Linked DNA regions of Homo sapiens: region 1 is linked to region 2. Evidence: promoter capture Hi-C in 16 types of primary human blood cells and fetal thymus (Javierre and others, 2016). All regions are on one chromosome and are shown on one strand. The core of a region is centred on a gene start or on the middle of the fragment in contact, and the rest is flanking DNA. Distances in the headings are between cores, read along the strand shown. Region 1 overlaps MAML3 (mastermind like transcriptional coactivator 3). Region 2 holds the start of MAML3-AS1 (MAML3 antisense RNA 1).

The links. Contacts are between HindIII fragments. The CHiCAGO score rates a contact against its expected background, and 5 or more counts as called.
Region 1: a contact is called between a fragment that was not itself captured here and the fragment with the promoter of MAML3-AS1 in region 2, in 1 of 17 cell types (naive CD4 T cells). The highest score is 5.1, in naive CD4 T cells.

Annotation. Positions count from the first base shown.
Region 1 is chr4:140,004,443-140,010,384 of GRCh38, reverse strand. The region is part of intron 1 of MAML3 (mastermind like transcriptional coactivator 3); the gene reads left to right. Among named protein-coding and RNA genes, the nearest start is that of MAML3-AS1, 120 kb to the left of the region's middle. The HindIII fragment of the contact is 2,352 bases long and covers 1,038-3,389 here.
Region 2 is chr4:140,126,721-140,132,304 of GRCh38, reverse strand. MAML3-AS1 (MAML3 antisense RNA 1) reads right to left here and starts at 4,290. Exons shown (of 5, transcript NR_147610.1): 1 at 4,218-4,290. All of the region lies in intron 1 of MAML3 (mastermind like transcriptional coactivator 3), which reads left to right. The HindIII fragment of the contact is 9,535 bases long and covers 1,615-5,584 here.

The DNA of each region.
Region 1 (5,942 bases), core at 964-3,463, 120 kb after region 2:
ACCATACGGCACAAACATAAATATGTGTGTGTGTATAGGTGTGCTTAACAGTGGTACAAATTTCCAGTCACCCCAGTCAAAACATCTGATTTAAATTTGTTCCTTCTGCTGAATGCCAGATATGCAGGTTAGGATCAAGTGAAATGAGCCCATTTCAATAAAGTCTAGAACTAACCAGTGCCCTCATATTTGTGGTACACATTAATTTTTTTAAGTGAAGCATAGTAGAGAATCAAGAATGACGTTTTTCTTTGTTCCTTCACTTTATGTTGTAGATTTGATGGTACTCTCATACATGTAAGGGTAAAATTACCTCTTTGCAATGGAAAACAAAATTTTTTGGATGTGGAAGCACCCAATAAAAGCAATGCCTATTTCCACACAGTCTAAGTTGAAAACAATTTCTCTGGATAACCAAAGTTGCTTAATTTTCTATACCATCCAGCCATTTGCTAAACCAGTGGTAAGCCCAGTCCTAGAATGTCTAATTAATGATATTATGAGAAGATACATTCTATCCCAAATGAGTTTAGCTTGAACTGATAAAATTCCTGTGAATCTAAGTACCTTCCCAGATTCTTATGAATCTAGGCAAGCATCTCAGATGTCAGCTCCTTAAGGACAGGGATTTTTGTCTCTTTATTCACTTCTGTATCTTTGACTCCTAGAATAGTTCCTGGTGCACAGCAGGTACTCTTTATGTATTTGTTGAATTAAATCAATGCAATTAAATCTTGTGCCTGGATTGCTCAGAATAGTTTCCTTGACTTAGGGAGAATTTAGTGAAGTGATGTTTAAAATATTATTATAGCATGTTACAGTTGAATGGAAGAACCAACTAATGTAATGATTCTTAAACATTGGTCAGCATGGTTAATGGAGGACAAAAAAAATTATAGGAAAAGATCTCTTGCTAAGAATAAGATTGCCCACAGACAAAGGCTGAGAGAGTGCATTCTCCACTGGACTGTAGTACAGACTAGGGAAAGTGGGTCAGGATCGGGAACATCTGTGAATGGGAGGGCAGCGGGAAAGCTTGTCCTATAGAAAATTAAAAAACAAAAAACAGAGACACTTCCTGTGCAGCACAAGGCCTGTGGGAGCCTGGGGCTTGTTGGTTCGTAAATTTGACCACTCTCTGCCTTCCTGGCAATTCCCATTTAGTAAACCAAAATTCTAGGGACCAAAATGCACATGACTTGTAACAATAGGCACAGGCTGATGTTTTGTCTCAGCATTAGGTGTTGTCAGATTTGAGCATGTGTACAGTAGTGCAGATACATACTATATGTTGGGTATCTATCATGCTATTATATTAAGAACTCAAAGTCACGGAAATTAACTGTAACATTAAATCACAGTTTAAAAGGTATTGGAATTTGGGAAAGATGACCCTTTTAGATATGCAAAGGTTTTAAGATTAAGCCAAATATGCAAATTATAATTTATGAACAATTTTGCGGTCCCTTTTCTGTCAGATTAATTGGTAAAGAGTTTTCGTGGTGGCGAAATAATACACATGGATCCACATCCCTGTAAAGGCTGCCAGGTCAGTGCCTGACAGAAGTGTCTTTTATCGCAAGGAGTCAGTTGCAGATCAGGTTAATGTTTGTGTGTGCGCGTGTATAAAGGTTGTTTACAGATAAAAATTCATCTCTTTTTTTCCATTCTCATAAATTTTATTTGTTTATTGGAGTAAGACACATTGAGATTATCTGGAAGATGAACTATGTATATTCAGCATCTGAAAATCAATATAAAGGCAGGCTTTTAACTTGTGAGAGAAAAAAAAGAGTAAGACCTGTCATTTGCTTTTTCATCTCTTACCAGCTCACAGTTCCACTTCGTAGTTCCTTCAGGGACCAATGTCAAAAGGGAATGATAGGCTGTAAACCGTGTTCCTGATAAACCTACCTTATTTGAAAAAGTGTTTGGTCAGAAAATGCTTGGTCCTTACCATGTGATAGGATTCTAAAAGGTCAGAAACCTGTAAACACCATGCAAAAACACTTTTAAAGATTCTTTTTTTTTTTAATTGAGACTGAGTTTCGCTCTTCTTGCCCAGGCTGGAGTGCAGTGGCGCGATCTGGGCCCACTGCAACCTCCGCCTCCTGGCTACAAGCGATTCTCCTGCCTCAGCTTCCCGAGTAGCTGGGATCACAGGCATGCGCCACCACGCCCAGCTAATTTTTTTGTATTTTTCGTAGAGACGGGGTTTCACCACGTAGGCCAGGCTGGTCTCAAATTCCTGACCTCAGGTGGTCTGCCCACCTTGGCCTCCCAAAGTGCTGGGATTACAGGCGTGAGCCACTGCGCCCAGCCTAAAATCTAACTCTGGGACTAGCCTAGGGTAAATATCACAAATATTAATCCTAGACGTTTGAAATCTCTTTACTCAGCAGTACAAATTGACAACGCTGCCCAACAGTGCCATTTCTTACCGATGAAAAATTCTCTTTGATAGTAGAGCCAAATAAATGACTGTGAGTTACTAGATTAAGGTGACCTACAGGGCCGTGTCCTTAAAATGGCAGGAGGTTTCAGTGCAAGAGCAGAGAAGCAGTTCTGGTGGATGGAAGTCAGTGGCTTCTTCAGGATGGTGTGGGAGAAGGCACAGGGTCAAGAATTGCAGCCTGGTAAGGCTGGTCGCTTTCCCTGCCTCTCTGTTAGCTGTGGAGGAAAGAATGGGATCAGCTTGGCTTTCCCATTTCCAGGCCATCCAATGGCTGGTGGCTTTGGAATATAACCTGATCTTACCCCGACCACCTCCCTTTTGTTCCAAATGGGTGAGAAGGTAAAAGAAACAGATACAGAAACCTTTTTTTGCTGTTTCTCTTTCCTCTTTCTTTCTAGATCTCTGAGGCATTCCCTCCCCACTGCCCTCCCTTTACTGGAATATAATGGAATACAGAAACGTCTCCTTTCGCCTCATCTTCCATTCCCTTATTATTATTTTAGCTACTAGGAATTAGCATTAGGAAGAATCCCAGGAAGGAAAAGCTGTAATAAAGATTATCATTTCCAAGAAGGGACCAGCCCAGTGTTTTGTTTTGTTTTAGATTTTAGGCTCTTTGAGTGCAATTTTCCTCCAGTTGGTGATAAATTTTTAGCCGCTATGAGGTCTTTTCACTTTTTATCACGTATCCTCTTGTTTTCTCTAATCTCTTTTAGATCTTACTTTTCTCTCTACAAAGATTAGTATTCTCTTCAGTGGAAATTTATGAACAAGGCTATTTAAAAAAATGCCGATAAGCTATCCTTGTATGTTTTCTTCATATAAATATTTGCCCCAGCAATATATACGGCAACATCCTATGTTATAGGATATGTGGACTCAGATTCCTTTTCAAAACTATCACCTACCTCTATCCTATTTTACCACCAAAGCTTATTTTACCAAAAAGCTTATGAAGCTTTTTGTTCTTTAAACATAACCAAGTTTATATTCATTTGTATATGGCACCTACCTCAAGGGGTTGACGGGAAGATTAAATGAGTTAATATATCCAAAGTACTTGGATTAGTGCCTGGCAGCGGGTAAGCTCTATGTAAGTCTTTGCTATTATTATTTTTTATTAGCTTTTATTATTTTTATTTGATAGACGACTATAGAATATCAATTTTAATTCATCTCCAGCTATGGTTGGATGCAGTTAGCCCTGCAATTGTTTGAACTTTAGAGGTCAACAGATGTATTTCAGTTGAATGAGAAAATATGCTAACCACCTTTTTTTCTGCTCTGCCCAGGGGTCTTCAAATGTCTCCTAATTCACTTTTTCACTTTTTTTTTTTTTTTTTTGAGACAGAGTTTCGCTCTGTCACCCAGGCTGGCGTGCAGCGGCGCCATCTCGGCTCACTGAAACCTCCATCTCCCAGGTTCCAGTGATTCTCTTGCCTCAGCCTCCAGAGTAACTGGGATTACAGGCACCCGCCACCATGCCTGGCTAATTTTTGTATTTTTAGTAGAGTCGGGGTTTCACCATGTTGGTTAGGCTGGTCTCAAACTCCTAACCTCAAGTGATCCACCCCTCTTGGCCTCCCAAAGTGCTGGGATTACAGGGGTGAGCAACCGCACCCGGCCTGTTTCCTAATTCACTTCTTGTTCACTCTAATACCAACCAGGAGAGGGGAGTGCTATGGACCCCTCCCCCTTCCACTCCCTTTCTTCCTATTGGCCCCCTCGAATTAGGAACAAGACAGAAGCATATGTTTTGGCATCTTATGTGTTCTCATAAAAAAGAGTCATCTTACTCGATAAAGTCCACTTAAATCTGGAAAGCCCTTGCATGGCACACGATATCTCAAGTGGCAGCCTCCAAACAAAAGATGACTATAGAACCCCCGAAATTCAAGGTCAGGAGACTGAATAATGAATGTCTGTTTATCCACCTGGTGCTTTAAAACTGACCTATGTTTCCCATAAGATGTCTTGAGGTTGAATTATGTCACAGCAGTAATGTCTTTAACACTATTGGGTGAGATGATTTGAGAGAGATCAGATTTCATCTGGTGAGTGACAAGGCTTCACTCCCTCTTGCAGTGTATTAAAACAATTAAACATCAGATGCATTTTACTGCAGTCTGTTTGACTCACGTGTGCATATTAGAATATTTTTTTCAAAAACCTATGAAATAGGAGCCTAGCTCCCTGTGAATGTTTATGGCGCTCATTAACAAAGTTCATCTCCAGGATGTATGATTTTCAGTTTTCTCTTTCTAATCTTCTTTTGGGAGGATGGAGGATGGGTAGAAATCAATTTTCCCAGCTAGATCTGCATTTTTCCAGTTAGAAAAGATGTTTCATTTTAATTTGTTGTCTGATGGTATTGAAATATTTTTCCAATCTGTTGTTATTTAAAAGAGCAAGCCCTATTCCTGTCATCATCCATTACCTGGAGCGTTATTTAGTAAGTGCTTTGTTTGTAAACAGATAGTGGTTTTAAACAGATCTAGTCCTGTGGTGATCATGTTTCCAACATTGGAGGACAGCTGCCTGGCAGCAGCACTTTTCTATGTTTAGTTTTTTATTTCAGTTCTTCTGAATTGATTATTTCCTCCTAATGTTTCCAGGTTAAGGAATATTTTATGCATATTATTTGTCAAATTCACATTTCTCTTTCTGCCAAGGAGGATTAGGAATCTCTAGTGAATCAACCTGCTCCAGATAGTTTCTGGGAAAGAGGAGAGGTGAAACAGGAAAAATCCTAGCCCTCTGCATTGTCTTAACCATTTGAACTAACCAGGACAAAGGGTAGCAACACCACTGAGTTAACCCACTGCATTGTTCAAAGCCCGTCCTCCACATTCACCAGCACCCCAGCACACTTAACCAAAATGTTTTCTACCTGTGTTTTTTGAAGTACAGATTTTAGCTACTTTGCTGAACTTTTGTTTTCTTCCTGATTATTTTGTTTCACAAGAATTTCTAAACTCTTAAGGAAACAAAAATCATTCTGTTTGGTTTTTGGTAGTTGAAAATACAGCTATATCTGGGGAATATGATGATAGGGAGGAGTTATTTCTTATGTTAAAAAAAAAACCTAAGGAAAACGGTAGCCCTCCTTTCGGCTAGGAAATGACCATGTGTCTCTCTACTGGGGAGCAGCTGCTGGGAGCCCTGGGCTGGCAGGGAGAGCGGGTCTGGGAAGGGAGCTGCGCCAGGCTCCCTCGCCAGCCCCGTGAGCGCTGCGTTTTTCCTGGAGCCGTCATTGTCTCCCTGCGAGTCTCATGGCGTTCTTTGTCTGCGGTGGGTATCTTGTGTCACACACTCGCAGCCCGTTGCACTAAGCCACTGTTCATCCCATTTTCTTTCTTTCTCTCCTCACTACTCTCCCCTGCCCCCTCCCCAAACCCCTCCCTTTCTTACTGGTTTTGTGATTCAAGGAATTTGAGATCATTTAGGTGAAGTAGACGCTCAGAAGGAGAGGTTTCTTATGAGCTTC
Region 2 (5,584 bases), core at 3,041-5,540:
CAACACACTAATAAGAACTTCCCTTTTTCCAGTTTTTTACTGAGCTCCTTGTGGATTCACTCTTTTCTTACAGGAGAGAAGGGCAAGGGAGCACGAGCATTCGTGGACTGTGCCTCTCCTCCTTTTCTGTATTCTTCAACTTGCCATTGCAGGAGCATGTGTACCAGTAAGAGGTCCGTACAAGCTGCAGAGTGTGGGCCGGGCCTGAGGACAGTGATTGCATGGGTGTAGGCTCCACCCTGGCACCTCTGTGTGGTGAACAAGACCTGTTTATCCAATTGCCGCACATACACACTCATGACTGCAGTGCCTTTAAATGGATGTTACTTTATTAGGAGAAGCATATGGAAATGATGACATCTCTGATGTCTCAAATAGAGACTGGAGACAGCAATCCTGAATGTATGTGGGTGGAGAACACCCTGGTGTCTCATTTTGAGTGGAGACAAGGGTCAGATGACCCAAAGAGCCTTCACCTTCACCCTTCACAGCCCCTGGCTTGGTGCTGGGACAGCAGTAGACTGATTGCTGATGTTTGGGCACTGCTGCCAACATCACATACCACTGCTGCCCCTGAACTTGGACATGGAGATGGCAGAGGTGGATGAGATGGGCCATGGAGGGGAGAGCTAGATGGAAGAGGGAGGGAAAAAAATGAAATAGAGCAAGGAATGGTAGGTGACATTGGATGTTGACTATTACCCAGAATTAGTTTTTGAAATGGTGAGAGGAAAAGTTACTCCACTTTTCTTAGAGATAGCTTGTAGAAATTCCATTCTACTTTTCCTTCCTGGCTTGTTACCTTCTAAAGCATCTTTGTGGTTCTGCACAAATTCCAAGGTACCTTCTGCCTCTGTACTAAGTTCTATAGCAGAAGTAGCATGGAGGTCTGCAGGAGAAGTAAGCCCGCCTCTTGTGCAGAGCTCTTCCCTCTACTCCCTTACCACTGCTACAATGAACTTTGTGACCTTGAGCAAGTCACTTCATCTTTTAGGACCACACAACTCAAGGTTTGATTCAGTTGACTTTTAAGGGCACGTTACAGTGGAAGGAACAGATTTCAAATTTTTAGTAACTTTGCATAGCGTTATTGGTACTACCTTAAATCCTAGGAATATCTGCATCCTTCTTCCTGGCTACCTAGAGTCCTCCACCACTACAGAAACAAAAGAGGGCTTGACCTTCACTGAAATGACTGGAGGGTTTTGGCCAGCAGATAATAGTTTATTAATTGAATGTGTATGTGCATGCCCCCTGCTTGGAAGTAAGGTGAGTAGAATTAGGGCTAGTCAGCAAGATGTGAAGGGATTTTTCCTAATTCTGCTGGTCCTCTCTATTTAGAACCTGGGTCTTCCCTTTCCTCATGCTCTCCTAGCACCTTATACATGACGTGGCAGTTGTCCTGTGTTGCTTATGGGTGAGTGGCCAGCGCTGGGTGGTGAGCAACTTGAAAGCAAGGTTTGGATCTGACTCATAGGAGGAACTCAATAAATGTTTCTTGAATGAACCTGCATAATATTGACTATTTCATCATATCCTTATTAATTACAGCATTAGTCCTGAATTTCAGGGCTAGCATCTTGTAATATGGCTTGTAAGCTAGGCCTGTAAGCTTTTCTTCTGGTTAGTTGGGGCCACTTTTCTTGTCTTTCAGTTACACTTATCCGTCTGCTACCCAATGGTGAAACCAAGGCATACTTTAAAAATGCAATTTCTAAATGATTTTTAAGTAAAACTCTTCTTTCAGCAAGGCCAAATAATATCCAAAAGGTTTTAATCAGTTTTTAAAAATCATTGTATAAGCTGCAGTGTTCAGGCCTTTGTAGCAGATAGGTGACCCTCAGAACAATTTTTTAGACTCTCAATTTCTTCCTAGGAGACTATCTCATACAACATAATACTGTACCACTTTTAGTTGAACTTCTTTTAGAAATATGCATTTGGGCAGATAAAATTATGGGGGTGAGAAAATGGGCCAACCTATAGGACTCACGATATATGCAAACAATAGTCTGTAAGCGTAGACATTGTTCCTTCAATTCTAAGGGTTCATGTCTGTTTTTGGCCTGGGGTTTACATAGTGATTCTGCTGAGATGCACGGATAAACTGCTTGCCCCATGCCACAATTGAAAAACAAAAAGAGTACCTATTTGGTTTAAGTTTGGAAACAGAAGGTTTTTTTCCCAAGTTAACTTTCTTATCCGTCTTTTATCTTTCAATTATGTCTGTGCCTCTGCTAACACCTAGATTTATTATTGGTGCGTTTTCCACAATTGCGGATTCATTAGAATAGTAACAAATATTAGGTTGTTTTGTTTTGATTCTTTTTTTTTTTTTTGAGACGGAGTTTCGCTCAGGTCACCCAGGCTGGAGTGCAGTGGCACAATCTTGGCTCACTGAAACCTCTGCCTCCTGGGTTCAAGTGATTCTCCTGCCTCAGCCTCTCGAATAGCTGGGACTACAGGTGCACGCCACCATGCCTGGCTAATTTTTGTATTTTTAGTAGAGATGGGGTTTCACCATGTTGGCCAGGCTGGTCTCGATTTCTTGACCTCGTGATCCGCCCGCCTCGGCCTCCCAAAGTGCTGGGACTGCAGGCATGAGCCACCGCGCCCGGCCGTTTTGTTTTGATTCTTAATCACCAGTTAGACTTGGGGTCTTTTCGTTGCTGTATGGATTGCGCAGCAGCCTGAAAATTTCTGTTCTTCCTTTCGTTTCTACACGTTTGGTCTCTCTGGCAGACTGAGACTCAGCCTGTCTTTTCAGAGAACCAAGGGAAATTATCAAGCAGGCAAAATCTACCTGCTCTTCTGCTTTACCTTTTAAAACTATGTGCTGCAGCTGAAATCAGTTTTGATTTAATTTGATCAAAAATAAGTGTCTCATGCAAAGAAGGTATGCATAAGAATTGGGGGTAGGGGGGATTTAGAGTCACCTTCTTTGTAGAATTTTGGTTTGACCTTCAAACGGGACAACTTGTGTTCTAAGTTATTCCTGCATATAGCATCTACGTGGGGTCCACAATTTGTCATGGCCTAGAAGGGGGCTTCCATGGTCCCACTGATGGAAAAAAGTGATAATACTAACAGCTCACATTTTCTGAGTGTGAGACACTTTTAAATGCTTTGCATGTTATCATCTCTTTCAGTTTTCACAATGACCTTCTGAGGCTCGTCTAATTATTGTTTCCATTTAAAAGATGAGGCTACTGAGTCCCCCGAGAGTTTTGTTGATTTGTCACAGTTAATGAATGGTGGAACAGGGATTCAAACCTGGACATTATTGCTCCTGAGGCTGTGTGACTACGACTCTGATGACCTCTCGATGTTGGTCCTAGAAGGAGACCAGTGGATTTAGGTCTTCGGAAGACTACCTATGCTAGTGGAGCGTGATGGAAGGGAAATCTTGAAGGTTCACACCTAGTTGTTACTTGTTCCATTTACTCCCTGCCTGGGTCTCTCCACTCTGCCCTGACCTCAAGGACAGGGAGACGCTTCTGGCTTGCTGGGGTGTTAGTTCTTTCTCTTGCCCTGCATGTGGCCCACTAGCGATGGTTGTTGTGAAGATATACTGTCTACTTTATTTGTTTCCCTCCCAAATTGCCACAGTCAAAGTCTTCTCTGGGCTTGAGCACACATCTAGAGGACCACTGCAGCTGCCTTTGTGTGGGGATAGCCTGTGTGGGTGCACCCTTTTTTGACACACAGAGTGCTTTCCAAGAGCTCCAAGTCCTTGGTGTTAGAAGGATACTCCTGCTGCAAAGATCCCATTGCCCATGGGGAGCTCTGAGCTGACATTCCCTAACAGAACCCAAGTAGTGGTCAGAGCTTGGGGCTCCTTAAAGGCAGGGGTGCTGCTGGGTCTGAAATAGTACTTTGGATATTGCAGGTGCTCCATACATATCCATGGACTTAGTTGATTTTTAGCCCTGCAGGTTGTTCCTCAGCACATGGTTCTTCTCTGAGCTCCATACTGCCCTCATCTTCGCTCATCTGTGACTGTATCTAAACTCTTCTCAAACCTATGAGTATTTTTGGCTTCTGCACCTCCTGAGGTGTGATGAGTTCTCTGTTTTTATGAAGAAGAGATCTTACCTTGTATTGTTCTAAAGCACCATCTTAATTGAAGGTAGGAGGAGGAGTTTGGAGCAAACCAGAGAGGAATATGGACAAATGAGGGGCAAAAGAGAGCCAGGGCACAGCAGAAGGGGCCTCACCAGGGAGAAGAGGAGCTGCCTGTTCTGTCACTTAGCTCTCCATGATGTGCTGGGATGCTGTCTGTGAGGCACTGGACGAAGGCAATTTAGTGAAGTCACATTAAAGTGGCTCCAAGATTTGATGTCACAATAGGTCACTTTGACCTTCTATTTATGATCAGCTCTTGATGTACACATAAAATTTTGGGAAGTAAGTAAAATGTATATGGAGGTTTGGCTTGCGTTCTGGTGAATAAGGTCCAGGAGGTTAAATCTCTGTGCTTTTAGTACAGCTACTTGGTATCTGGGCCTCATTTCCCCACCTGTAAAGCAGGGGTAACAGTAGTTCCTTCCTCATAGTGTTGATGTGAGGACTGAGAGATACAGTTCTTGTAGAATTTTCAGTAAAGTTCTGGATCCACAGTGAGCCTTCTATAAATATCAGCTGTTATTATTAGCAAACCACCAAGATGCCCACTATTGTGCCTCATGATGGCAGGCTCAGTGGGAAGCCAACATGTTTTCTCCAAAAAAGTAGAGCATGACTCTAGGTTTGTGGTGCTTGTTAGATGGAAGAGTCGAGCTTTTGCTGGCTCTCTATACCTCTCGTGTGGAAGGTGCTTAGCATGTTTAGGCCCCATTGCAGTGACTATCAATGTGAGTCCAAATTCCCTCCACACTTTCTGTCACTCCTTTTGGACATACCATATACTGTCTCCCATCATTTATCACTGACTGGCCACATGGCACCGCTTAGGAGCCAGATGCTGGGCTAAACATTGAAGTGACAACCATCTGGTTTACTGCCCCTCCCCTGCAAGAACCTGAGGGCTCCATGGATGGAGGATGAAGGTACAAAACACAGGGCATGAGCAGGGAATCATGAGTGTTTTGGTGCTGTTGAAACAGAAAGCTCAGGACGTAAAGTGGTGGAAGAAGAGGCTGGTGAGAGAGGCAAGGCATTAGGACGTGGAGGGCCTTATCTGCCACGCTCAGAAGCATAAGCCCTATGACATAGGAGAAGAGAAACTATCAAAGGATTATAAACGAGGGTGTGATGTCATCATGACCATACGAAAGATAGGTTTGAGACCAAGACTGGGTGGAGGGAGGTCGGTGAAGATGTTACAGAATACTCAGCAGAAGATGTTGAAGGGCTTCAAGTAGGTGAGTAGTGGGTAGAGATGGAGATAGGAGACCATTTTCAAAATATATTAAGGAGTCCATTGAGTAGACAGGGGGGACTGAGAGAAATCAGGGATGACTTCCAGTTTTCTGGCTTGGAAAATGGTGTTACTAGCCAATTTAGGTTTTGGAGGGAAGATGTTTGGTTTTGGACATGCGACGTTTAATGGGTGTATTTATGGTCCATTCTGAAGGGATGTCTG